Linked DNA regions of Homo sapiens: all the other regions are linked to region 4. The links are contacts of gene promoters, found by promoter capture Hi-C in blood cells and fetal thymus (Javierre and others, 2016). All regions are on one chromosome and are shown on one strand. The core of a region is centred on a gene start or on the middle of the fragment in contact, and the rest is flanking DNA. Distances in the headings are between cores, read along the strand shown. Region 1 has its middle 87 kb from the start of RNF7. Region 2 overlaps TFDP2 (transcription factor Dp-2). Region 3 has its middle 23 kb from the start of RNF7. Region 4 holds the start of ATP1B3 (ATPase Na+/K+ transporting subunit beta 3). Region 5 has its middle 58 kb from the start of RNF7.

Evidence for each region. Contacts are between HindIII fragments. The CHiCAGO score rates a contact against its expected background, and 5 or more counts as called.
Region 1: a contact is called between a fragment that was not itself captured here and the fragment with the promoter of ATP1B3 in region 4, in 1 of 17 cell types (monocytes). The highest score is 6.7, in monocytes.
Region 2: a contact is called between a fragment that was not itself captured here and the fragment with the promoter of ATP1B3 in region 4, in 1 of 17 cell types (fetal thymus). The highest score is 6.8, in fetal thymus.
Region 3: a fragment that was not itself captured here is called in contact with the fragment with the promoter of ATP1B3 in region 4 in 1 of 17 cell types (endothelial precursors); the score reaches 5.2 in endothelial precursors.
Region 5: a fragment that was not itself captured here is called in contact with the fragment with the promoter of ATP1B3 in region 4 in 4 of 17 cell types (M0 macrophages, M2 macrophages, monocytes and 1 more); the score reaches 8.3 in M0 macrophages.

Annotation. Positions count from the first base shown.
Region 1 is chr3:141,648,726-141,654,240 of GRCh38, reverse strand. No RefSeq gene overlaps it. Among named protein-coding and RNA genes, the nearest start is that of RNF7, 87 kb to the left of the region's middle. The HindIII fragment of the contact is 2,058 bases long and covers 1,849-3,906 here.
Region 2 is chr3:142,024,958-142,030,653 of GRCh38, reverse strand. The region is part of intron 3 of TFDP2 (transcription factor Dp-2); the gene reads left to right. Among named protein-coding and RNA genes, the nearest start is that of TFDP2, 120 kb to the left of the region's middle. RefSeq lists enhancers at 1,321-1,370, 1,777-2,278 and a silencer at 2,665-2,714. The HindIII fragment of the contact is 204 bases long and covers 2,468-2,671 here.
Region 3 is chr3:141,712,695-141,718,058 of GRCh38, reverse strand. It overlaps the pseudogene LRRC78P. Among named protein-coding and RNA genes, the nearest start is that of RNF7, 23 kb to the left of the region's middle. The HindIII fragment of the contact is 1,763 bases long and covers 2,325-4,087 here.
Region 4 is chr3:141,875,068-141,880,146 of GRCh38, reverse strand. ATP1B3 (ATPase Na+/K+ transporting subunit beta 3) reads right to left here and starts at 3,504. Exons shown (of 7, transcript NM_001679.4): 1 at 3,237-3,504. The coding sequence starts at 3,345. RefSeq lists silencers at 2,710-3,279, 3,550-3,679, 4,550-4,609. The HindIII fragment of the contact is 6,749 bases long and covers 1,755-5,079 here.
Region 5 is chr3:141,677,358-141,682,526 of GRCh38, reverse strand. It overlaps the pseudogene LRRC78P. Among named protein-coding and RNA genes, the nearest start is that of RNF7, 58 kb to the left of the region's middle. The HindIII fragment of the contact is 2,514 bases long and covers 1,495-4,008 here.

The sequences.
Region 1 (5,515 bases), core at 1,628-4,127, 230 kb after region 4:
CAAATTGCCCGTACTCCTTGACAGCATCCAATCTAGGACTGCCCCCCACTTTCCTCTTCCCCTCCTAGAGTCACCCCATGTGAGTCCAATCCTGTAAGAAACCTCTCCCAACTCCTTCTTCCTGAAGTCCCCGTGTTCCTCTGGGGACATTTGCTCCTATTGTAGGAAGGCCAGTAAATCTAACGTCTTTTTTTCTTTTTTTTGGACTGCAGATCAAAGAAATCCTGGTAATCTTTTGTCAGTGACATTTAACAGAACCCCAAAGCCAGAGCTGTAAGCCCCTCCCCTGTTTATGGGCTCCAGCAGGGTCAGGAATTGATGAGAGTGGGAGGAGCAGGCAACAGAGCACAGCCCTGGCAGGAGTTGGAATTTTTGGAAACTCATTCAAATTGGCCTCAAATAACTTGTCCTCCATCTATGTGTCTGTTTCTTCTGGCACCAACAGGAGGAGAAAGGAGAAGCCTTGGACCCTTAAACAGGCAGCCACCATCTTCCAAGCCCACTTCCCCCAGCAGAGTTCCAGGGAAGGAAGCTCTCTCTCTTTTCTGCTCTTTCTGTAGTCGTCATTCAGTCCTGACAGGGTTCCTACGCCAAAAAAAGCAAAATCTCCAGTGAGGAAATGGTGAGACCCTTACATCAGGCGGCTAAGGAAGAGTTTTCTTCTAGGGTGTACTTAGAAGGAAGAGGAGGTTTTCCTGGGGCTGGGCATATCTGAAATTCACAGGCACTAGGTGTTGTGGGCTCAGTGAGGACTGGCCTTGCAAACCATTTGCAGGTGTTTCTGAGAAGTGATATGATCAGAAAAAAAAAACTCAAATAAACTTCTTAACTAAAGGACAGGAATGTTTTCCAGTAAAAAACTCAATGGAGAAAGACATTTGAAAACAAATCTCAAATAGTTTTTCAGCAAGGTGAATGGGGTAATGATACAAAACTAAGCCTTAAATGTGGGCTATATCAGAGCTTCTTAACCCCAGTGCTACATTAGAACCATCTGGGAGTTTGAAAGTAATGTCCATGCCTGAGACCCTGCCCCAGACCAGTTACATCATTATCCTTGGGGTGGGGCAACAGTGTTTGTTCTCAGGTGGCTCTAACATGCAGCCTTGGAAAGGCACAGGGGTGTGGAAGAGTGCTGAGACCAGGAATCAGGAATCAGTCCTCTCCACTGTCAAGCAAGGTACTCCGCCACTCTCATTGTTCTCATTTGCAATATCAGTGTTTCTGACATTTTAATGTGCACACAAGTTACATGGGGATCTTGTCAACGTGAGAGTCTGGTATAGTAGGTGAAGAGTGGGGCCTGAGACCTGCATTTCTAAGAAGCTCGTGGATCCTGCTAATGCTGCTGGTCTGTGGGCTATAATTGGAATAGCAAGGTCCTAGGTCCGTGGTTCTCAAAATGTAGTCCCAAGACCAGCAGCCTCAGCATCACCTGGTGTCAGGTTCCGGCCCAAGCTGAGGTCCAAGGGGAGTCGGTTGATGAGGGGAGGGCAGCTGAAAGAACATGCGAGAGACCACAGGCAGGTGGGACATGGCTTTGTTCAGCAGCTCTTTCACACTGTCAGTGCTGCATTTATGCACCTCACAGACAACAGTGGCTCAGAGTCATGTGATGAGCCCTCCCATGTTATGGCTACATAGCTGTGGTGGTTTAATACACAGGATTGTGTGCCTGTGCTCCAATCCTGCTGTGTCATGCTATGCCGGATGTGTACCTCGGCCTATACTTGACTGCAGTGCGGCCATTGTCCTTCCACCTGGGAAACTGTTAGAAATGCAAAATTTTGGACTGTTACTCTGATACTCTGAGTATGACAAGATCTAGCCATCTGTTATAACAAAGCTTCTAGGTGATTCTGAAGCATGCTTAAGTCTGACGACCTCTGCCCTGTAAATTCCAAAATCTCTTCTGGTTCTGAGATTCTCTGGTACCTGGTCTTTCTGATTGCTACAGAAACCACTGCTCTTCCTCAGTACCCCAATTGAAAATCCATCAACACCAGACATGATCCTGGGGGCCACTAGTGCATGCCTTCCCAGCACTGTCCCGGATTTTGTTCCCTGAGGAGCCATTCCTTCTGGGAATTTGGACCTATCACCATTTCCCTAGTATGATGGTTAATTTTATGTGCCAATCTGGCCAGACCATGGTGCCCAGATATTTGGTCAAACATGATTCCAGATGTTTCTGTGTGGATGTTTTTTTGGGTGAGATTGACATTTAAATCAGTGGATTCTGAGTAAAGCAGATTGCCCTCTGTCATGTGGGAGGACTTCCTCCCAACAGTTAAAGCCCTTACTAGAACAAAGACTGACCTCCCAGCTGAAAGAAGGAATTCTGCCTGCAGACTGCCTTTGGATTCAAATTCCCACTCTTCTCTGAGTCTCCAGCCTGCCCCATCAGATTTTGAACTTGGCCAAGCCTCCACAATCATGTGAGCCAATTCCTTATGATAAACCTATCTATACACACATTCTGTTGGCTCAGTCTCTAGAGCACCGTAACTGTTTTGGAGGTCCTTTCTGCTCCTCTCCAAATCCAGCATGCCTGCTTTAAAAATGTTATCTCCCCATCTTTTCTGTTCTCATGGCCAAGTTCTCTGTGTCAAGTATTTGCAAGGAAATAATATCCAGAAACCTAATAAATCTGTCACCTTAAAAGATCACAGAGCAGAAGTAGCATACCAGAAGAGCCAGGCGGAATAAAATTTGTTGCCTTTTCTTCAGGTAAGATCTTATTGTACTTTGCTATCTGCTGCAAAATATCAAGCACCTCTTTTAGTAGTTGTTGGTAAATAGGGCAAAAATATGAGGTCAAAGTCTTATTGCTGAAGTTGACAACTTCTTCTTATTCAAATTAATTAACTCAAATTAACTTAAATCTTATTCAAATAAATTTGAGTATTCAATTTTATATTTGGTAATAGGACGGAACTTTTTTCTTCCCTTCATCCTCCCCAGTTCCCAGCAATTTTGCTTTCCTGCTGCATACTGAAGTTGAGTTAACAGATATGGCCTTGGTAATGCAACTCAGCACCCCCTCCCTTTTTCAGTATAATAACATAGTTTAAGCTCAACACACACAGTAAACTAAGAGGGGGCCATTTTTTACAACATGAAGGCCTACTTGCCTTGTAGATGCCTCATCTCCAGGACTACAGTCCTCCTCCCACACCATCAAGAGGAAAATGGAATGATTGTCCACATAGATGAGAAGCTGCAAAGAGGACCCTGGGGAAGAAGGTGAGAAAGGGCCAAGGAACTGGAGGGCTCTTAGGTGTGGAGCCCCAAGGGCTTCCCTATGAAGACCACGTCCCTGGAGAATCTGGGTCGGATGAGTTCAAGACAGAGGGGAGCCACTCCCAAACCACTGTGGACTCTGGGCTGGAAGACTGGATGTCTCCATGAGGTAAAGGAGTGTTTGGACTTTGGGTGCCTTGACTTTGTGCTTGTGATAAAGGTCTAGGCTATACTTTTTTTGTTTTTTTTTTTTTTTTTTTTGAGATGGAGTCTTGTTCTGTAGCCCAGGCTGGAGTGCAGTGGCGTGATCTCGACTCACTGCAAACCCCGCCTCCTGGGTCCTTGTTCAAGCAGTTCTCCTGCCTCAGCCTCCTGAGTAGCTGGGATTACAGGAATGCGCCACCATGCCCAGCTTATTTTTGTATTTTCAGTAGAGATGGGGTTTCACCATGTTGGCCACGCTGGTCTTGAACTCCTGACCTAGTGATCCACCTGCCTCGGCCTCCCAAAGTGCTAGGATTACAGGTGTGAGCCATTGCACCCAGCCTGGTCTAGGCTATACTTTCTTAAAGAAACACCAACATTGCATTAAGAAAACCAAAGTGTTTTATCTCTTCCCCCATCTTGTGAGGTGAATGTGGGCTATGGACCATGAAGAAAGCTTGCAGGCATGCAATTCATTGAATTTGGAAGTCCAGTTGCATGGTTCCATAATTGTCCTCGCTCCAGTGGTCTTCCTAGGTTCCCTTTCCTGGGTACAGAAGAGGAGCAAAGACTTTTTTATTCTTGTGGAATCCAAGAATAGAATTTCATTGTAGATTTGCAATCACCACCTTTGTACACTGAAGTTCTCATGTTGCGAGTGTCCTTGTGGCAGCCGTGCAAAGCGCTGCAGATTCAGAAATCTGAGTGCACAAGAACATTTGCTAAGCCTGAGAAGAAAGGTATGTTCCCTGTGGGCTTTGTGTGGGATGGCAGAGACAAATAGCTCCTGCTTTTGCTGACTCAAAATTCAGCTTAGAATCCAGACAAAAATTACTGAATTAAAAAGTTAGTTTTAGACATTTTATTTAACTCCCACAGCTTTCTTTCTCACAAGCCTAAGACACCACAATGGAGAAGATGACATTCTCATTATTGAACTCTCTTTGTGTCATTCAGTCCTCACTATTCTACATAATTCTTTATGGTATTGTTAATGCATGAAATTGTTTTATTTTTAAAACATAGTCATTTCCACAAATAGTTAAGTGTTATATGCTGAAAATGGGTATATTCTCAAATACAATATATAATTTCTTGAGGTAGAGTAGCAGCTCGTTAAGTAAATTTAAGTTTGAACAGATTCATTAATTAGTCTTGTGGTTGCAAGCATCAGAAAGTATTTCCTATTATATGAGTTCACATATTTGCAACTAGTGAACTTTCTGTTACTTTTCAGATTCTGTAGTTGTTAATGCTTTGTATTCCCCCAGATAGTTTAATTTTTCCTTGGGGAACTTAATGAGCTGCCTTCCCAGCCAAAATATCTATGAAGGTGAGTAATGCTTCCATTCAATTTTATATCCAGTTGGAGAAGAAGTCTAGCTAACAGGCATATGGGCATACGGATTTGCTTTTTTTTTTTTTGTTTTTTTTTTGTTTGTTTATTTATTTGAGATGGAGTCTCGCTCTGTCACCAGGCTGGAGTGCAGTGGCGAGATCTCAGCTCACTGCAACCTCCATCTTCCGGGTTCACGCCATTCTCCTGCCTCAGCCTCGCAAGTACTGGGACTACAGGCACGCACCACCACGCCCAGCTAATTTTTTTGTATTTTTAGTAGAGACAGGGTTTCACCATGTTGGCCAGGATAGTCTCGAACTCTTGACCTCATGATCAGCCCACCTCGGCCTCCTAAAGTGCTGAGATTACAGGTGTGAGCCACCGCGCCCAGCCCTGGTTTGTTTTGAAGTCTGAGAGTATGGATGATTTAGATCAAACCAATGGTTTGACCCAATGTTTTAAATTTGATTTGATTATCCAAGGTGCCACAGGTCTGTAGCTCTATTGCTCTTATAGCAGGGGCTTCATCCCAGCCCCTGTTGGGACCATTGCTAAATTTCAGATCTGTTGGGCACATCTGAAGAATTGACAGCATGGGCTATCTGAAGTTGACTGGATGTGGAAGACCAGGGAGGTTTCCTAAAGGAAAAAGGAGCTAGCCTTATCCGTGGAAGGGGGAGGTGTACATGTACTAATAAGCATGCCTCTGTGGTTGGTTTGATGTGGGAG
Region 2 (5,696 bases), core at 1,320-3,819, 150 kb before region 4:
CCTGAATATTCTGGCCTTGGGTGACACAGGTGAGCACTTCTAGCTGATCTGACAGGTTAAAGGTGTACACTTATTTTCTCTGTAAGAAGCGTCATCTGGTAAGATGATCAAGAATGGTGCAAAGCAGGATGGGGAGTTTAAAATTGTTTCCAAATGTGGGAATGTAAATGAATATAAACATGTAAGATTTTAATATACCAAACTGATCAGATTCTGTGTAATTTCCAAGTTTCTTTTTTCTTTCAAAACTCCTCTGAAATCTGACTGTCCACAAAAACTTACTTTATAGAATTTTATGTGATTTATTTACTCAGATATTATACTGACCTCACATCCAGTAGTGAAAACAGATTTTATTGTAGAATCTGGAAAGATAGAGGGCCATATAGGTTGTATTTTCAGTTTTGTTTATACTAACACGTGTTTACAACCCAGTTTAATTTACACCCTGTATTGTATTATTGTTGTCATATCTCTGTATGCATGTAAGTATAATATGTGTTGGCAAAGGAAAATTTTGAGTAAGAAGAAGCTCTCTGATCTATTTGATTCAATATGTATTTGAGTGTCTAACAGACACTGTTTTAGACACTGGTGATACAACACTGAACGGAGCACCAAATACTTTACAGCGTCTCCTGGAGCTGTTGTCAAGACATACTTTCCAAGGGGAATATTTCAGAATAGGTGATAACTAGTCAACGAAGGAAAAGTACCTTAGTCATCTAGGAGAGTTGTACTTAGAGTGAACTGAAATAAACTAAGCTCACGAAAGACAGAGATTTTTTGTTTGGCTTTTGTCTGTTGCATTCACTACTGTATCTCCAGGGCCCAAAATAGTGCTCGGCTCATAATAAGTATTCAGCAAATATATGTTGTTGATTGGAGTGTTTGTTTTGAATTTCTGTAATCAAACACATACCTTGGTAAATTATCTTTACATCTTGCTAGTTGAAAATTTTATCTCAGTTGCTTTGTTTTTAATGTTACCTTGCTTTTTGTTTCTACTTGTGCCATACATCAGGATGCTGGAAAAGCTTATTAATATTGACAGTCATATGGTTATCTGATATTGAAAAGAATAGATTTGGAAAGGAACCTAAGAGGTCATCTTTTGTTCAGCTTCCTGCCTAGGAAAACTAAGTAAGATGATTAGGTATGTATATTTAATTAGTCATTTAAAAAAAAACCAGGACAACATAATTGAGTTCCCTCTTGAGAAAATGGAGAAAGGTACTTAACCCTAGCTATAAAGGGACTAACCTGGAAATTTTAGAACTTCTGTGTGGGAAAGTGGAAAAAAAAAAAAAGCACAACTAAGCTGCTCTTTGTTGATATCAGAAATGGGCCTGTCATTCATTTTGGCATTGAAGCATAGCCTCCTATCTCGGGGCAGGACTGGGACATTTTTTTCCTCCCACAAGAGCTGGACAGTTATTACAGGTTCAAAAAGCCCCGACCAGTTTTTCAAGAGTTTCTCCTCCTCTTTTCCCCCTGAAACTCGTGGTGCTTTTGCTCTGCTTTCAAGATGCATTAAGTCTCCTGCTTTGTGACTGCTTTGGAGCCAGCAGATACTCTGATATGTATAATTCAAATTATGCAGGTTTCACGAGTAAGTTTAATCTTATTTTTTAAGTTAGTTAAAAGGCAAGTGATATTTAGAAAAATGTTAACTTGTAGTTATTTCACCCTTTTTACTTTAAGCATTTTTATTGCTTCTCGGCCTTTTGGCTAAGATCAAGTGTGTACTTTAAGCATTTTTTAAAATAAAAATATCCTTTTAATTTAATAAGAAAACAAGGTTCTACATAGAAAAGCCCCTTCATCTAAGACCTGCACTTTTCAATTTCTTTTGAGATGTCTTTGTTGTAAACAGTATTCATATGTCTTTTGAAAGCCAGTTAACTAAACAGTTTTCTTGAGCATCTTTTTAGTTTTACTGAGAAGTATTTTAAATTGAGCTTTTCTGAGCTCGATTGCTTACGTCTGACACAGTCTCAAGTTTCCACTGAATGGTAACAAAGACTGTAGAATGTTGTTGGTACTGCAGTGAGAGGCATGCTTCCTTAGACCAGGTAAGAGAGATCAGTTTGTTTCTCACTGCTGGGTGAGTTTTTACAGCTCTTATTTTATATTCTTTAAGCAGCAGCAATATTAAATTGATAAATAGCCAGGAGCACGCTGATTTCAAGACGTCCTTGCTTGTTGCAGACAGAAAAACTACAGGGTTATGTATGGGGGTTGGGGTGGGGGGGGAGGGGAAGAATTAGTTTATTACTCAGTTACTTATATAAATTAATTAAAATGTGAAAATAATTCTGGAGCTCAGTTTTCTTAATTCAGGAACTAAAGCAGCAGTTGAGGAAATCAGTAATTTTAAAGGTACTTCATGGTTATTACTTGTGAAAGCAATTCAAAGGATAGTTTTTACTTTCATTTTTTTCCCCAGTAGTTAATAAAATAAGCTTTGCCCTTAACTAAACATTTTTTCCACTTACGAAAACTTTTAAATTGCCAACAGCAAAATATACTTCCCAAGGATCCTTGGAAATCAACCTGACACTTGAAAAATATTTCAGCTTTTATAGCTGTTTCATTCCTTTTTTTCCCTAGTACATTTTTCTTAAAAGTATTTGTGCTTTGAAAATGTCAGCTGTATTCTAATGAAGCTTAGGCATTGTTTGCTCATAAAGGGGCCGGTGCATTCCACTGCTTTATGGTTTATTATGAGGCACAGTGTGAGAGTGTGGGTGGCACCATTTGGTGTCTGCCTCTTGGGGTAGTGACTGCCATTATGTTAGCCTTGGACTGGCAAAGAAAATATAGCATACAAGATGCTATATGAATCTGGATACTGTGAAGAAAATCTTACCCCTAAACAATTCTTAATGACCCCGGAATATATGACAACTTGATTGAATTGATCATTTCAATTATACCCTTGAAGTTTGCATTTTAGTTACAACGTATATTCTATTAGACACGTCTTATTTTTTGATATATAATAGCATTTAGTCATTCTTTGAAGTTCAATAAGGAAGTGAATGTTTCTAAACTATGATGTTTTTAATAGATACAGTGAAATTTTAAATAATACATTTACTTAAAAAAGTTTTAAGGAACTTAGTGTGGGTGGGGAGCGGGAGTGGGAGAGGGAGAGGGAGAGGGAGAGGAGGTCAGGCAGAGAGTCTTTCTTCTTTCAGTTAGGAAAGCCCTGGTGAAGAAAAAAAGCAACAGATGTTTCTTCTGTTACAATTGAGGTTGTTTCATTCAAAACTCAGAGTAGCTGGAATGGAGAGAGGAGGTCATAAATCTGATTTAATCAGTGAATAAATAAAATTTAGTCATTTAAAATTTATTATTTTATATTCAGGAATTGAAAGTCATAGAGTAACAAAATGAGTAACATACCCAATATTTAAAAAAAAACTTTAAATATTGCCTGTAGCCTGTATAATTAATGAAAATGTGAGAAAATTAATTCTGTTGAACTTCACTTAAGGAAAAAATTGATAATTAAATCATATAGACCATTTTTTTAAAGCCTAAGCCATCTAAAATATAGAGGAAACAGTTGCAAAAGTTTATCACTAGACAGTAGGTACAAAATCTCAAAATGAAAATAAAATGAGAAACATCAGTTACATATGTTGATAGATGATTTCATCTTCTGTGAGAAGCTGAGGCTTATTCCTAAGACCTTTGCATAAGAAATATGGGAGTAATATTTTGGGTTTAATTGAAATGATATGTTGCAGTTTGCCTCTAAAAAGAAAGATAATAAGCTTGGATTGGTTGCTAATGGAAAGAGGAGAATGTTTATCTGCTGAAAAGAGTAGGAATGAAGAGTGTGGAAGCATTATGCGTGTAATGAAAGCAGTCAAAATTTTGAAAAACAGTTTTTGAATTTTTGGAATTCATAATGAGGAAAGTGAAAACCTTTCCTTTTACAAGTAACACAAAGAAGTCCTATGCTGTTGTATAATGTGCGTGTATACACATTACAACTTTATTCATTTCTTAAGTTTGCTCTTGAAAAATCAGTGCTGAGCACCAGCTCTTTCACATATGAGGCACTTATTCAATATTTGCCATACCCTACACTGGAAAATTCGTAGTAATTTACAGTAGCCAATAAAGTTTTTGAGCTATAGTTTAAAATTTGCATATGGATTAATTATTATACAGTTTTCTAAATAATTGGCCTAAGGAGAGAGAAGGCTGGAAAAGATATCAACATTCAAGCAGATTATTAAAAATTCCTCTTGCTGTTAGCTAAGATCTGTGGGCTTACCTGAAGTTATTTTTTTGTTGTTTTTTTTTGTTGTTTTTTTGTTTTTTTGAGACGGAATCTCGCTGCAAGCTCTGCGTCCCAGGTTCACACCATTCACCTGCCTCAGCCTCCCCAGTAGCTGGGACTACAGGCGTCCACCACCACGCTCAGCTAATTTTTTGTATTTTTAGTAGAGATGGGGTTTCATCATGTTAGCCAGGATGGTCTCAATCTCCTGACCTCGTGATCTGCCCACCTCGGCCTGATGGTCTCGATCTCCCGACCTTGAGATCCGCCTACCTCGGCCTCCCAGAGTGCTGGGATTATGGGCGTGAGCCACTGCGCCGGCCAGAAGATTTTCTTTTCTTCAAATAATGATGACCAAATTTAGAGATTTTGAAGTTTGTTTGTTTTTTGAGATGGAGTTTCGCTCTTGTTGCCCAGGCTGGAGTGCAATGGTGTGATCTCGGCTCACTGCAACCTCTGCCTCCTGGGTTCAAGCGATTCTCCTTCCTCAGCCCCCCAAGTAGCTGGGATTACAGGCATGCGCCCACACGCCTGGCCTTTGAAGTTTATTGAATCATTATTTCAATTAAGATTCAGATTCTAAAACTTATCTATGTACATTTTGCTTATCTTAAGGAATAGCAACATGTAATGGTTGAGGTTTTTTCTCTCTAAAATAAGTAAAACAATTTACATGGACTTTAAAATGGATTTACAAACTATAGATTTGCCTAAAGAACTTTTTTTACAATTCTGATCAAAGAACAGAAATTTTGATGGAATAGACAGGCTTAAAAAAAAGTTGGTCACTCCACATGTAATACATAACTGTGACAGCATCATAGATTGTGATTATAAAAAATGTGTATCACTTACAATTATAAATGTAGACATGACAATAAGTTACTTAACAAGGAAAACAGTATCAGCAACAGCAACAAGGACATAGTTTGGACTCCTAGCCCTTCAAATTGAGAAATGAAGACCAAAATCAGTTGAATTATTTTAAGATGAATTCCCACTGCCTCTGTATGTGTAAATTATCTTGGAATTATTGAATGTGTGGTCAAATTATGGTTGAGAAGAGCACATTAGTTTTAGCATATATGGAGTATAGAACATAGAGAGTATAATTTTCTATATTATATTGTTGATTTATACTCTATGAGAAACCAAACCATTCAAGTTTGTTACCTGGAAATTGGTTGGGAGTGTCTGAAGGAAAAAACAAACAAAAACTTTCCTAATTCATCTGCCATTTAGAGGTAATTCCTTAATTGTCTTTAATTTCTAGTAAATACTTCCAGTCATAATCAATTTAAATATTAAATTAAATCTTTTTTTTTTTTTCTTTGAGACAGAGTCTCGCTGTTGTCGCCTGGGCTGGAGTGCAGTGGCACAATCTCAGCTCACTGTA
Region 3 (5,364 bases), core at 1,957-4,456, 160 kb after region 4:
AGGTCAGGAGTTTGAGACCAGCCTGGCCAACATGGTGAAACCCTGCCTCTACCAAGAATACAAAAATTGGCCAGGTATGGTGGCAGGCGCCTGTAATCCCAGCTACTCGGGAGGCTGAGGAAGGAGAATCACTTGAACCCAGGGGGTGGAGGTTGTAGTGAGCCGAGATTGCGCTACTGCACTCCAGCCTGTGCGACAGGAGTGAGACTCCATCTCCAAAAAAAAAAAGTATTAACTATCAATCAAATATTTTGTACCCGGCCAAAAAAAAAAAACTTTATAAATGAAGGCAGCATAGACTTGTTAGATATACAAAGGCTTAGGGAATTCATCACCAGCAGACCAGGATTACAAGGCATGTATAAAGTAAGTCCTTTAGACAGAAGAATATGATATCACATAGAAATGTGAATATAGCCAAAGGACTAAAGAATGCCAGAATGGTAAATATGTGAATAAACATAAAAAACTCCCCCCTTATTAAAAAAACAACTGCTTAAACTAGACATAATAATAATGTATCCTTGGATTTATAACACTGGTAAAGGTAAAATATATGACTACAAAAACACAAAGGATAGGAAGAGAATGGAAGTATACTGTTGTAAGATTCTTATACTATAAGTGAAGTAGTATAAAGTTATTTGAAGGTAGACTGTAATAAGTTAAAGGTGAAGGCTGTAAACACTAGAGCATCCACTAGGAAAAAAAAGACTAAGAGGTATAGCTCACGAGCCAATAAAAGATATAAAAATGGACTTATAAACATTACTTAATCCAAAAAGCAACAGAAAACTAGTTTAAAAGGAACAAGGAACAGATGAGACAAATAGAAAACAAATGGCAAGATGATAGATTAAAAACCAAACAAACCATAAAGATAATCACATTAAATATAATGGTCTAAACAATTAAAAGACAAAGATTGTCAAATGGATAAAAAAAGAAGTTCTCAGCTGTATGCTGTCTATAAGAAACCCAATTTCAATATAAAAACACAGATAGGTTAAAACCAAAGGACGAAAACAGACAAATTATGTAAATATTCATTTAAAAAAACCTGTAGTGGCTATATTAATATCAATCAAAGTAGGGAGCATTACCAAGGATAAAGAAGAGCATTTCATAATGACGAGTGTCAATTCATCAAGAGGCACAACAATCAAAAATGTTTATGTACCTAAAAACAGAGCTTCAAAATACATGAGGCAAAAATTGATTAAACTACAAGGAGATATAAACAAAATCACAATTTTCCCCTCTCTCAATAATTGATAGAACATGTAAAAATTTGTACATATATAGAAGACTTCAATAACACTGCCAACCAACTTGACCTAATTGACATTTATGGGACATTCAATCCAGTAACAGCAGAATACACATTCTTTTCTCATGCACATGGAACATTTACCAAGATAGATCAGATCTGGGCCATAAAAGAAATAAAACAAGTGTGTTCCTTTTTTCCGCTAGAGATGAGATCTTGCTATGTTGCCCAGGCTGATCTCAAACTCTTGAGCTCAAGCAATCCTCCCACCTCAGCCTCTCAAGTAGCTGGGACTACATGACCACACCAGGCGTGGGACCTGTAGTCCCAGTTACTTGGGAGGCGGAGGTGAGAGAATCGCTTGAACCCGGGAGATGGAGGTTGCAGTGAGCCGAGATCATGCCATTGCACCAGGTATGTTTTCCAACCACAGCAGAACTTAATTAAGAATCAAGAGATTCTTAATCTCTTGATTAAAACAGAATGATATCTGAAAAAATATACACATATGTGGAAACCAAACAGAGCTGTTCTAAATAACCCATAGGTTAGAGAAGAAATGAAAAGGAACATTAGAAAATATTTTGAACTGAATGAAATGAAAATATAACATATCGAAATTTGTAGGATACAATAAAAGCAGTGCTTAGTGCTAACATAAACATTTATATTAGAAAAATTAAAACTTAAAATCAATAACTTAAGCTTTCACTTTAATAATCGAGAAAGAGAAGAGCATATTAAACCCAAGGTAAGCAGAATAAAGGAAATAATAAAGACAAGAGATGAAATCAATAAAGTTAAAAACAGAAAAACAGTAGTGAAAATCAAGAGTGGTTCCTTGAGAAGATCAATAAAATTAATAAATTTCTAACCAGATCAATCAGAAAAGAGAAAACACAAGTAATCAATATCAAGAATGAAAAAGGAGACATCACTATAGATGCTACAGACATTAAAAGGATCGTAAGAAAATATTATGAAGAACTTTATGCCAATAAATCTGACAAATTAGATGAAATAAATTTCTTGAAAGACACAAACTACTAAAGCTTTACTCAAGATAAAATATCCAGAATAGCCTTATATCTATTAAGGAAATTGAATTTAGACCAGGCATGGTGGCTCACGCCTGAGGCAGGAGAATTACTTGAACCCGGGAGGTGGAGGTTGCAGTGAGCCGAGATTGCACTGCTGCATTCCAGCCTGGTGACAGAGAGAGACTCCATCTCAAAAAAAAAAAAAAAAAAATTGAATTTGTTGTTAAAAACCTTCCCATAAAGAAAGCTCCAGGTCCAGATGTTTTCACTGATAATTCTACTGAATATTTAAGGGTGAGATAATGCCAATGCTACACAAATTATTTCATAAAATAGAAGAGAGGGGCACACTTGTTAGCTCATTCTGTAAAGCCAGAATTACCCTGATCTTAATGCCAGACAAAGATATTACGAGAAAAGAAAAGTACAGCTGTGTGTGGTAGCTCACGCCTAGCTGGGCAGATGACTTGAGATCATGAGTTCAAGACCAGACTGGCGAACATGGTGAAACCCCACCTCTACTAAAAATACAAAAAATTAGCCAAGCATGGTGATCCGCACCTGTAGTCTCAGTTACTTGGGAGGCAGAGGTGGGAGAATCCCTTGAACCCGGAGACAGAGGTTGCAGTGAGCCGGGATCATGCCGTTGCACTCCAGCCCAGGCAACAGAGCGAGACTCCATCTCAAAAAAAAAAAAAAAAAAGAAAAGTACAGACTAATATGCTTCATGAGCATAGATGCAAAAATCCTTAACAAAATTTTAGCAATATACTAAAAGCATAATATATCAGCAATATATTAAATCAGCATTGTGTTAAAAGGGCAATGAAATGAAGGTTATTAATAGGATTATTATAGAAAAGCAGAGAAGCTATTAAAGTTGAAAATCTTCCCAGCCTTCCTGAATAAGTATATTAGAGAAGATTCCCTTCCCTTCCCCTCCCCTCCCCTCCCCTCCCCTCCTCTCCCCTCCCCTCCTCTCCCCTCTCCTTCCCTTCCCTTCCCTTTCTTTCTTTCATGATGAAGTCTCATTCTGTTGCCCAGGCTGGAGTGCACACGATCTTGGCTCACTGCAACCTCTGCCTCCTGGGTTCAAGTGATTCTCCTGTCTCAGCCTCCTGAGTAGCTGGGATTACAGGTGTCTGCCACCATGCCCAGCTAATTGTTTTGTATTTTAGTAGAGATGCGGTTTCACCATGTTGGGCAGGCTGGTCTCAAACTCCTGACCTCAAGTAATTTGTCCACCTCGGCCTCCCAAAGTGCTGGGATTACAGGTGTGAGCCACCATGCCCAGACAGAGAAGGAATATTTTTCTTCTAAAATAATAAGTAGACTGGGTGCAGTGGCTCACACCTGTAATCTCAGCACTTTGGGAGGCCGAGGTGGGCAGATCACTTGAGGTCAGGAGTTTGAGACCAGCCTGGCCAACATGGTGAAACTCTGTCTCTACTAAAAATACAAAAATTAGCTGGGTGTGGTGGTGCACGCCTGTAGTCCCAGCTACTCAGGAGGCTGACGCAGGAGAATTGCTTGAACTAGGGAGGTGGAGGTTGCAGTGAGCAGAGATTGCACTACTGCACTCCAGCCTGGGCGACAGAGTAAGACCGTGTCTCAAAAATAAAAATAAAAGTAGTAATAATAATACTAAGTAGCCATCCATCAAGCTCTCAAGCCTCAAGCCTTGGCTGTGTTCTGTTGCCCTTGACTGTCCCCATGGTGCTGTCACTATCGACTACCTGAAACTATATATCTTGGAGTCGTTTCCACCCAGCAAGCTTTTTCTACAGTAGCTGCAAATCCTACTTGGCCCACTGGGGATGTGGACTCAGTAGGCCTGGACAGGGAAATGCCTAAGATTCTCAAGACAAACAAGGTAAGGAAATATCCTGTTTTTGAGAAGCTTTTGAGAATAGCTGTGTCCTTCTGCCTGAGGAGGCTGGGACAACTTTGTAATCAAACACAAAAGAGTGTTCACTCCTGAGTAGGCCGCCCTTCTTCCTCAGGTCACATTGATTACATTTTACATTATATCCTGACTTTAAGAAAGAAAAATTGGGAGGTCATACTTCCTGTTTTTCCTCAGTTGCCAACTTCTTAAAATGGGGCTTCTAGTGAGGTCTTTGAGACTGCTTTATGGTCCACACACAACTGTTTGCCACGTTAGGTACCAAGACCAAGATGGGTCACTGCTTGGCTCTCAGAGCTGAAAAACCTCATCGGAAACTGCTAAAAAGGTGCAGTTAAATAATTATCCCCATGATTTAATTCAAGCACTTAGTTTTAAAAGGTGAACAAATAAAGCCTCTTAACTTGCTACTTACCATGTTAAAGTTTGAATGAATTCCAATAAACCATTTTCTCCTTCTCTTCCTTTTCCATCTATGCCATTATCTGCCTAATGCAACTTCACTAACCAAGGACCACTTTCCATCAGACCTTCAATTTTCTTCTTGATTCCTACAAGAAAATCAAAGTATTTTATTATTTTTAGACAATAGTTCCCCTGTTTGTCACCAGCTAAGCTGACTTTATTCTTTTAGCTTGTACTTTACTGGACTTGTGTGAGTAGATGCATTTGCAGTATAGTCAAGGAAATACTGTATATATAATTTTTAAAGTCCTCGTTTTATACTCAGTACATCCTTCCTTCTTTAGAACAAGAAGCCCAAAATTACTCTGCATGAAAGGAAATTCCATCTAAGATTTAGATTGTTGCCTTTACTTTGAAGAGGAAAATGATGTATCTAGAAATTTCCTGGAAGAAGATGAATGAGTTGCCCACTGATCTAGGGGAAGTGATAGTTCTTGTGAAGGAATTCAGCCCTTTAAAGGAGCCTGAAAAGCTGTTACCTTTTTGAGCTTTAAAAGAGAAAATCTGAAGGAGAAAGAACCATCCTGCCTTTGTAGAATTCATGACTGGGCTCAGGGTTCCTGGGGTTGGTTCACACTTGTCAGTCGACACAGCTTTTGTAGAGTCTATTGTCAGTGCTGGGAAACAGCATCAGGTCCACATTTAATTTATGTCAGTTCAAGTTTAGGAGTTTGGCAAAGAAA
Region 4 (5,079 bases), core at 2,255-4,754:
GTGTGCTTTTTAATGTATCCAATGCACTTGGAGAGGAACCTTAGATCAAAATGAGACAAACATACTAAAGACTTAAATGTGTAAAAATAAAACCAGGAAACATCTTAAATGAATGATAAAATCCTGGGGGTAGACACACCAGGAGTCCTAGCAACTTTACAAGGTCAAAAAAGATGTGATTTTTTTTCCTTCCACCCCCTACAACAAATACATAATCTTTTTCTCCCACCACCTACATAAAATTTGATTAAAAAAAGTCAAAAAGACAACTAGAAAAAAAATTTGCAAAATGACAAAAGGCTGTTTTTCTTAAAAAAAAAAAAAAAAAAAAAAAAGCTGTTACCAAAAACTGTAAGGTTTTTTTTTTTGAGATGGAGACTTGCTTTGTCGCCCAGGCTGGAGTGCAGTGGTGCGATCTCAGCTCACTGCAACCTCCACCTCCTGGGTTCATGCAATTCTCCTGCCTCAGCCTCCCAAGTAGCTGTGATTACAGGCAGGTGCCACCACACCCGGCTAATTTTTTTTTTTTTCATTTTTAGTAGAGACAGGGTTTCACCATGTTGGCCAGGCTGGTCTTGAACTCCTGCCCTCAAGTGATCCACCCACCTCAGCCTCCCAAAGTGCTGGGATTACAGGTGTGAGCCACCGCGCCCGGCCCCAAAAATGTAAGGTTTTAAAAGAGATAACACAGGTAAAAATAGCCTCAGTGCTGATGAAGGTATGAGACACCACTACATACCGTTGGGAGTATAAATTGTTAGAAACTTCCTGGAAAGCACATGAAAACAAGTTTTCAAAATGTAAAAAGTACATATGAATGGCCTAGAAATCCCATCGGTATAAATATATACCAAGGAAATAAATGTGCAAAAATGTACATGAAAAGGGTGAATATAGGGAAACCTGTCTAAAAATCTTTAGTAACATGGAAAGATGCCCACAATATACTCAGAATATAAAACAACACTTTATGATCCTTTTGTTTTAAAAAAAATGTTATACACAATTCAGTAACATATATACCAGAATGTTAATAGTATCTCTGAGGTATGATGACATCTGGCAGCAAGCCCATACAGTCCCTTCAAGAGAATTAAAAAAAGAATCCTTCCTGGCAGACATATCCCCAGAGGCACAGAGCTCTCCAAACTGATCCTGCCTTTGCAAGAATTAGAACAAGGTGCCCCTTCTCTAGGCAGACCCAACCATGGTCTAGGATACACAGCCTGGCAAGCTGAATATGGATTTCGGCCTCCTCTCACGACTCCCTCACATATCCTTAGAGGGATACCCTTACATTGGGACAGGATTATGGTTAATTTTCACCTATATATGCCATTCTTCACTGACTTACTATTATTACAATAAACAAAAAATTTACTGATAAGAGTAATACTTATCGATTTTGAAGAGATTGACTTAATCCTTCCAAAATGAATCCCAACTTCACTTGTACTAGTTTTACAGTCCTTACACATTGCTCTCTATTTATTTGTGCATGTTATCTATTTAAATGCATTGACTCAATAAAATAAAATCTCTACCCTAGGTCATACAATACAAAGGTTGAAGAGCACTATCTGCAGTAAGAAATGTCATTCTAACACAAAGTGGAGTTACTCCGTTCTGGAAATGAGGAAGCACTGGGGAAGGGAGAAAGGGAGGAAGGTAGCCTATCAAAATTAATCTCTCTCCACCACTCAAAAATTTCTTCAGCAAAAAGTTAGTACACTCTAGAAACAAGCAATTAAGCTTTATAAATGTTCATCTTTTGTTCCCATGTAAGTCTGGATGCAAGATTTATTTCTTCATCACACTAGTGGGTTCCCAAAAGAAAACAGCAATTTAAATAAAAATCATGAGTGATTACCATGCAGTTAGGCAAGGCATCTGTAAAATAATACAACCGCTGGACTAGGATTAAAGGAGAACTGGGTTCTTTTCTTGGCTTTGTGGCATATGTAATTTTACACAAGGCAAAAATCACAACCTCTCTGGGTCTCATTTTTCTCATCTCTAAAGTGGGGGTTGGGCTAAAAATCCTCCAAGGCCCCTTTCAGCTTGTGATAAGACTTCAAGTCGCCTTTTCACCCTGAAGGAGTCCATTTCAGTCTGCACCAACAGTTTATTTTCTGAGTCACAGCTTATTTCTCCATGCTTATCCTAAAAATGTTGTGCCCAAATAGTTCTAAGCTCTCGAGATTTATTCCCACTCAGAAAGAAATGGTCTTTCAAGACCCACTAACAAAATGTTTCAAAAGGATTTAAAAAGGTAAAATTAGTTTACTTAAGTATAAAGGCAAAAAAAAAAAAAAGCTCTAGCCTGCATTCAGAGATTGATACAATTTTAGGAAAAAAAGGCATCCTAAAGCTACTCTACACGGTAGATGGTTTAAATATATTAAAACAAAGAGCTCACGCATAGAAAAAATCTGCTAACATACAACCATCACTCTCCTGTTTTGAAGACACGGGAAAAAAAAAAAAAACCTGTGTTGTTCAGACAGGATTTACTTTCCCCAAAGAAGCAAATTTGTAAGGAAGAAAACCTCTGTAATTAAAAAGGAATCCGGGAGGAACCAACCTTTTTAAGGGCCTTTTCACTGTCCAAATTCAAGTGCATTTTCTTGTACAATGTACTTCTGTGATTAACTCACCGCTACACGTTTAAGCAACCCACACCCACACTTAACACTCAGTCGCACTCTTCCGACCGGTCGGGGTGGCAGCGTGGACGAGTCACAAGATAGCGGCGGGAGTGGAAATTTCCTCTCCCCTGGAGTGGGGCAGGGTCTGGCTTCTCCGAACCGCTCAGCGGGCCGGGCGCCTCCGCCAGGGCCTCTCGGGCCGGAGCGCTCCGTACAAAGGAGGCCCGGGGGCTCGGCTCCTGCACTCTCGGGGCCCGGCTTCGGGCAGGGGTCCCCGGCTTCCGGCGCCGCGCCGGGCGGGAGGCCCGGGCAGCACGTGCGCCCCGCTCCCAGCAGGGAGGGAGGAACCAGCGCGGCCCGGCCGGGCTGCCCGCGGGCCCCGCTGCTTCGGGAGCGAGCTGCGGCCAGTCCGGCCGGCCCGGGGAGCAATGAATGGGGCCGCACTGCGCCGCCGCCGCCCGGGTTAGGGTCGGGCGGTCGGGAGCCCCGGCGCTGGGAGCCGCCTCCCGCCTTTCCGTTCCCACCAGACCGCGCCCGGCGCCCCCGGGACCGAGGCCGGCCCCGGACGCCCAGCTGCTGCCCGCTCACCCCAGCTCTTGGCGGTGCGCCCCAGGAATTCTCCGGTGGTCGGGTTGTAGATGAAGAGCTTCCACTCGGCCAGGCTCTGGTTGAGGGACTTCTTCTCGTTCTTCGTCATGGTGTGCGCGCGGACGGCGAGAGGAGCTGCGGCCGCGGGGATGGAGGCGGCGAGGGCTGCGGAGGCGCGTCCCGGCTCCGGCGGCGCAGCCCGGAGACGGCAGTGAAGGGTGGGACGGCCGAGAACACCTCCTCGTTACGGGGAGTACTCGAGCCGACTGCGCCGCGCCGCGCCGGGCGGCCGCTTGGGCCGCGGGAGCCTGACGTCTCCGCCCGCCGCAGCCAATCCCCGCGCCGCTCGGCCCGCGCCGCTGCCGCCTCCCGCCAGCGGCCGGGGCGCTGCCTGAGGCGGCGAGGGCGCCCCACCCCGCCCCGGCCCCGCCCCGCAGTAGCCTCGGGGGCTCCCTCAGCCTGGGTCAGAGGAAGCGAGAAGAAAGTCTAAAAATCCGAAGGTTTAGTCGCACGCACGTTTATAATAATAGCAAAAGGCGGGCGTCCCCGCGCCGCAGGTTGCTTAGGAGGAGGACTGGGTTTCCTGGGCGTTCCTGGGCGCCGGGGCGCTGAGAAGATGCTACCCGCGGCGGGCGGGTGCGGAGAGCACGAAAACGACTCCAGTCGGCCCGCGGCTTCCTCTCTGAGGGAACTTAATCGTCCCCTCCCCGAACTGCCTCCCCGACCGTCCCCAGGCGTTCTCTGGGCTCTGTGACGTTCCTACAGGACGCTCTCTGGGCTCTGTGACGTTCCTACAGGACGCTCTCTGGGCTCTGTGACGTTCCTACAGGACGCTCTCTGGGCTCTGTGACGTTCCTACAGGACGCTCTGCGGGGGATCGCGCGGGGCTCCCACAATGTACACGGTGCACTGCTGTTCTGAGAACGTCCTCGCTTGGCTCCCTTGAAGGGTTCAACCGGGAGCCTCGGGTCAATGGGAATTCCGTTCTAAATATGCCAGTGAATGGAGTATAATTTTTCTCGGGATTCAGTTGAATTTATCAATGAAATCTAAATACGTGCTTTCCCAAGGGTCCTGGCAACTGAAAGCTCCCAGCTTTTGCCCAGACGCTCCTACTCTTAACCCACAGGAAAGGAACACTCGTTGGAGGGTCCACGCCTGTGTAGTGTCGCCGGCTTTTCATCTCCCCTGTAGAGATCGCGGCCCTTGGGCGGAGCTGAGGGTGCCGGTAGCGTTTTCCTCCGCGAGATGGAGCTGACGAGTACGGGAGGGGGGGTGCCCTCAGACTCAGCGACAGGATAAAAGACTTTATAGGAATTTGCACAGAAGGTGCGGGGTGGGGGAGGTTGTTGTTGTTGTTGTTTATTTATTTATTTTTAGAAAAAAGCTCTGCCTCCGTTTTATTAGCAAATAAAAATTATGGAGAAATGTAATAGCCATCTTATTGTTTGGAGTGATGAATTATAATCTGTCTGGAAGTTTAAACAGCCTGCAAATGGATGAATTTTCCTTTTTCCTCACTTTTCTTACCAAAGCAAGAAATAATGAATTATACCTCCCACAAATGGAAAAGTGGTAAAATATATTCCTATAAAGTGCTTTTTTCACGCTTAAAAAAGCTAAATTTATAATTATGACATTGAAAATAACCAAAATCCATTTACGTTTTGAGCTAATGACACCAAAAGATTTGTAGAAGCATGTTGGAGAGTTTGGCATGAAATGAGTATTAGAAATAGCAAAGCACCATGCAAGCAGACTGGAATGCACTTCTTTAAATCATAGGCAAGATTGAAAGAACTAAAGAATGTTACCTGCCGGGCGCGGTGGCTCACGCCTATAA
Region 5 (5,169 bases), core at 1,502-4,001, 200 kb after region 4:
GGGAGGAGAAATGAGCTCATTCCTGCATCGTGTTTGGCACACAATAAACACTCATTAACCATTAGCTGGAAATATTATTATTATTCTCATCTTGTGGACATTCCCTTAACATGCTTGATACCCCAGCTCTGAAGGACTTGCTCCACTCCTCCCCAACACCACACCTTTCCCTCCCTCTTTCCCTCCCTCCCTCCCTTCCTTCCTTCTTCCTTCCTTCCTTCCCTCCTTCCTTCCTCCCCTCCTTCCTTCCTCTTTCTTTCTCTCTTCTGTTTTCTTTTTGAGACAGAGTCTTGCTCTGTCACTCAGGCTGGAATGCAGTGATATGATCTCGGCTCACCGCAGCTTTCATCCCCCACCTCAGCTCAAGTGATCCTCCCATCTCAGCCTCTCAGAATGCTGGGATTACAGGTGAGGGCCACTGTGCCCAGCCCACCACACCTTTCTTTCTACCTCCTCATCTGGTGAATATTGACCCGTCACCTAGGGAATTGTGGTTTCCCTTGTCCAAACTACCAAAATAATATACATGGACATCTTTTGTGGTCTTCAGATTTTCTACCTTGCATTAAGAGCATCTCTTCTCTACTGTACCAAGGACACCTTGGAACAGCAGCATTGCCTTCTATATTTGTATCTTTCTTAGCACTGAGCACAATATCTTGCATAAACTAGCCTTCAACAAATATCTGTTGAAAGAATAAATAAATGAAAGTGACTCTTCTTGAGAACTCTAATATTTACTCAGAAACATTAACTCTAAGGTTTTAGAGGGTCCTCTTCAGCCATGCCTTGATAAGGTGCAAGGAAACTGGACATGCAACCCCCCCAACCCTCCCCATCTTTGCTTCCCCCAGCTGACAGCTGTAAGAGCCCTGCAGGAATTCCAGCCCTACTTGCAGTAATCGAGGACAAGAGAATGCAAACTACTGAACCGCAGAGCCTTCCCAAGTCGCTCTAGAGACCACAGATCCATCTTGCAATCAATGATTTCTAGGGTGGTAAACGGGCAGGTGGTGTGCCCCTTCAATTCCAGAAGCAAAGCCTAAGAATGCAAGATATAAAAAATGCTTACATAATGATGACAACTATGCTCTGTGCTTTAAAATGTTGCTTTCAAGTCCATCATGTTAATTACCTCAACATTTTTGCCCCAAGATAACTTTCTAATTATCTAAGGAAAAGGTGGCATGAAAATAAAATACTTTCCCTTTAAAACAAAGAGTCACTGAATTGGATTGGAGTGTTGGATTGGAGCCAACACATGAGCACTGGAGCCAGCCCAGGTTCCCACAGTTTCCTGTGTGGAGGGCCCAAGGCCAGGTCATTTCCTGTGGTAACAATGGATGCTAATGACAGATAAATCCCCACCTAATGAAAGGAGAGGGTATTTAAAAATGTAAATCACAAGAATGTCGTGAACAGGCCACCTTTTAGCAATTAGAGCCATCACAACCTGAGGATCCTTCATTTCAGAATTTAAGCCTAGAAGAAGCTTTGGTGGAGTTTGGAGAATTCAGAGTTTTTTGAGGCAATGACATGGTCAGATATAGGATTCCAAATTATACCTTGGCAGAGATTAAAAAGGCACTTGTGACCTTAACTACAGAGCTGGTGCCCAAGGCCTCTTTAATGACAGGTGCCTCATTTGAGTGCTGGACTGGATTCTGCAAGCTGTGTTTCTGACAGAGGAGCCAATCAATGTGGCATGTCAGTGCCTATGTTAACATCAGTCTGTGCTAAATGGGCTCTTGACTGGGTCCTAAAGCTCCTAATCAGAGGTTTACATGTCACTCCTTCGGCACCAGTACTGCCATGGGCAAGGACCATGCTATCCAAGATAGAATTCCTCAGCAGCCTCCAGATTAGCAAGAGGGCTACATTTAAGGAACTATTAAGGATCACTTTTAACATGCATGGACAGCATCTTATTTCCAGCTTGAGTGGACTGGGTACCCTGACTGACACTCTGAATAAAAGCAACTAAAATTGCAGGATACATATTTAAAGTAACTTATACATGTATTTCTTTTTTTTTTTTTTTTTTGAGACAGAGTCTCGCTCTGTTGTCAAGCTGGGGTGCAGTGGCACCATCTCAGCTCACTGCAACCTCCAACTCCCTGGTTCAAGTGATTCTCCTGCCTCAGCCTCCTGAGTAGCTGGCATTACAGTTGCGCACCACTACACCCAGCTAATTTTTGTATTTTTAGTAGAGACAGGGTTTCACCATGTTGGCCAGGATGGCCTTGATCTCCTGACCTCGTGATCCACCCGCCTCGGCCTCCCAAAGTGCTGGGATTACAGGCGTGAGCCACTGAGCCTGGCCAAAAAATGTATTTCTTAACTGTGGCAAAATGCACATAACATTTACCACCTTAGCCATTTTTAGTATACAGTTCAGTGGCATGAAGCATTCACATTGTTGTGCAATCCTAACCACCATCCGTCTCCAGAACTCTTTTCATCTTACAAAACTGAAACTCTACTTATTAAACAATAACTCCCTATTCTCCTCTTTCCGCAGACCCTGGTAACCACCATTCTGTTTTCTCTCTGTATAAATCTGACTACTCTAGGTCCATCACGTAAGTGGAATTCTACAGTATTTGTCATTTTGTGACTGGCTTATTCACTTAGCACAATGTCCTCAAGGTTCATCTCATGCTGCAACATGTGTCAGAATTTCCTTCCTTTTTAAGGCTGAATAATATTCCATTGTCTGTATACAACACATTTTGTTTATTCATTCATCTGTTGATGGACACTTGGGTTGCTCCCACCTTTTGGCTCTCATGAATAATGCTGCTGTCAACATGGGTATAGAAGTCTCTCTTTGAGATCCTGTTTTTAATTATTTGGGGTATATATTCACAAGTGGTATTGCTGGATTATATGGTCATTCTATTTTTAACTTTTTGAGGAACCGTCATACTGTTTTCCCTACTGGCTGCACCATTTTACATTGCCACCAACAGTGCCCAAGGTTCCAACTTTTCCACATCCTTGTCAACACTTGTTATTTTCTGGGTGTTTTTTATCTTTTTTATTTTTTTATTTTTGATGGTGAGGTTGGCATGTCATTGTGGTTTTGATTTGCATTTCCTTAGTGATTAGTGATGTTGAACGTCTTTTCGTGCATGTATTGGCTATTTGTATATCTTCTTTGATGAATGTCTATTTAAATTCCTTGCCTATTTTAAATCAGGTTGTGGCCAGGCATGATGGCTCACACCTGTAATCCCAGCACTTTGGGAGGCCAAAGCAGGTGGATCACTTGAGGTCACCATGTCTCTACTAAAAATACAAAAAAAAAAAAAAAAATTAGCCAGGCATGGTGGTGTGCACCTGTAGTCTCAGCTACTCGAGAGATTGAGGCATGAGAATCGCTTGAACCTGAGAGGCGGAGGTTGCAGTCAGCTGAGATGGATCACACCATTGCACTCTAGCCTGGGTGACACAGCGAGACACCATATCAAAAAAAAAAAAAAAAATCAGGTTGCTTGCTGTTTTGTTGTTGAGCTGTAGCAGTTTTTTTTTCTTTTTTCTTTTTTCTTTTTTTTTTTTTCCCATGACAGGACAGGCTGGAGTACAGTGGTGTGATCTCGGCTCACTGCAACCTCCACCTCCCGGACTCAGGCAATCCTCCCGCCTCAATCTCCTGAGCAGCTGGGACTACAGGTACATGCCAGCATGCCTGGCTAATTTTTTGTAGAGATAGGGTTTCACCATGTTGCCAGGCTGGTCTCGAACTCTCATGAGCCACCACACCCGGCAAAGTTGTAATAGTTTTATATATATATATTCTAGATGTTAACCCCTTATCAGATATACAACTTGCAATTATTTTTTCTCATTCCATAAGTTTGCCTCTTCACTTCATTGATTACGTCCTTTGGTGCATGGAAGTTTTACATTTTGATGTAGCCAAATTTATCTACTTTTTCTTTTTTTTTGCCTGTGCCTTTGGTGTCATTTCCAAGAAATAATTGCCAAATCCAAGGTGATGAAGCTTTTCCTCTATGTTTTCTTCTAAGGATTTAAAAATATATATATATCTTTTTAAAATGTGTCGATGGGCTGGCAGTTTAGTGAGGAATACCCAAAGATCAATGAATGAGAGAAAGTGGGAGCCCAGTGGGGTATGCAGAGCACTGACTCCAGCTTTCCTTTGAGAGTATCACTCAAACAGTAGTTGGTTTTCATGGATCGTGGAGTCCAGGGAATAGGAGATAAAGTCATAGACACTGGAGACAAGGAGTCCAGTAGAAAATGCTACATGAAGTTATGGCCCCAAATACAAAGTGGGCCATAGGTTTTTTCTCTTAGAGTAAGGATAACTAGAAATAAATACCTAACTCTCTTTTTTTCCCAAAGGACCCTAGGGAAAATTGCCTATCTCAGACTGATAAATATGAGGAAAAAATGTATCTCCTGAGAACTCACAAACTAGCTCTAATACAGTTTTGCACCCTGTGTTAATTAACCATCTGGATGGTTCAAAGAAATCACAGGTCAATAATTTAATTTAATATAACCCTGGGATGGTAGCACCCAGAGTGAATGGCAGACACAAATTCAAGCCCTGAAGAGGAAGTTCTCTTCAAACCAGAGCTCAGGAAATTGCCACAACCATTATCCCAGGAAATATGAGTTAACAGTAAAAAGGAAATCACAAAACACACAAATTGGTGTCACCATGAGTAAGAGCCAGTAGAAGCAAGAGATCACAATATCAGCCCCAAATAATTCAGATTATTGAAACTATTAGACAGAATACAAAATAACTTTAACACATTCAAAGAAATAAAATAAAGGATTTTTTTTAAAAGTAAGAGACTAGAAAATGACTACTAGTGTCCTTTCCTATTCTCTGCTTCCTCCTTCCTCCCTAAACATAATTTTGTGATAATCAAACATTATAGTTGTACCTGTTTTTTGAACTTTACATAAATGCAAACATACAGTATTCATTTGTTTGTGCCTCTCTTCATTTGCAGGCATTATGTTGGTGACAGTCATCATATTTTATGTTTGTATAGCTACAGTTAGTTCATTTTCATTGCTACATAGTGTCTCACTATATGAATATGCCACAATTTATTTATTTATTCTATTGTTGATGGAAATTTGGGTTGTTTCTAGTTCTTGATTTCCAAGAACATTTTTCTCTAA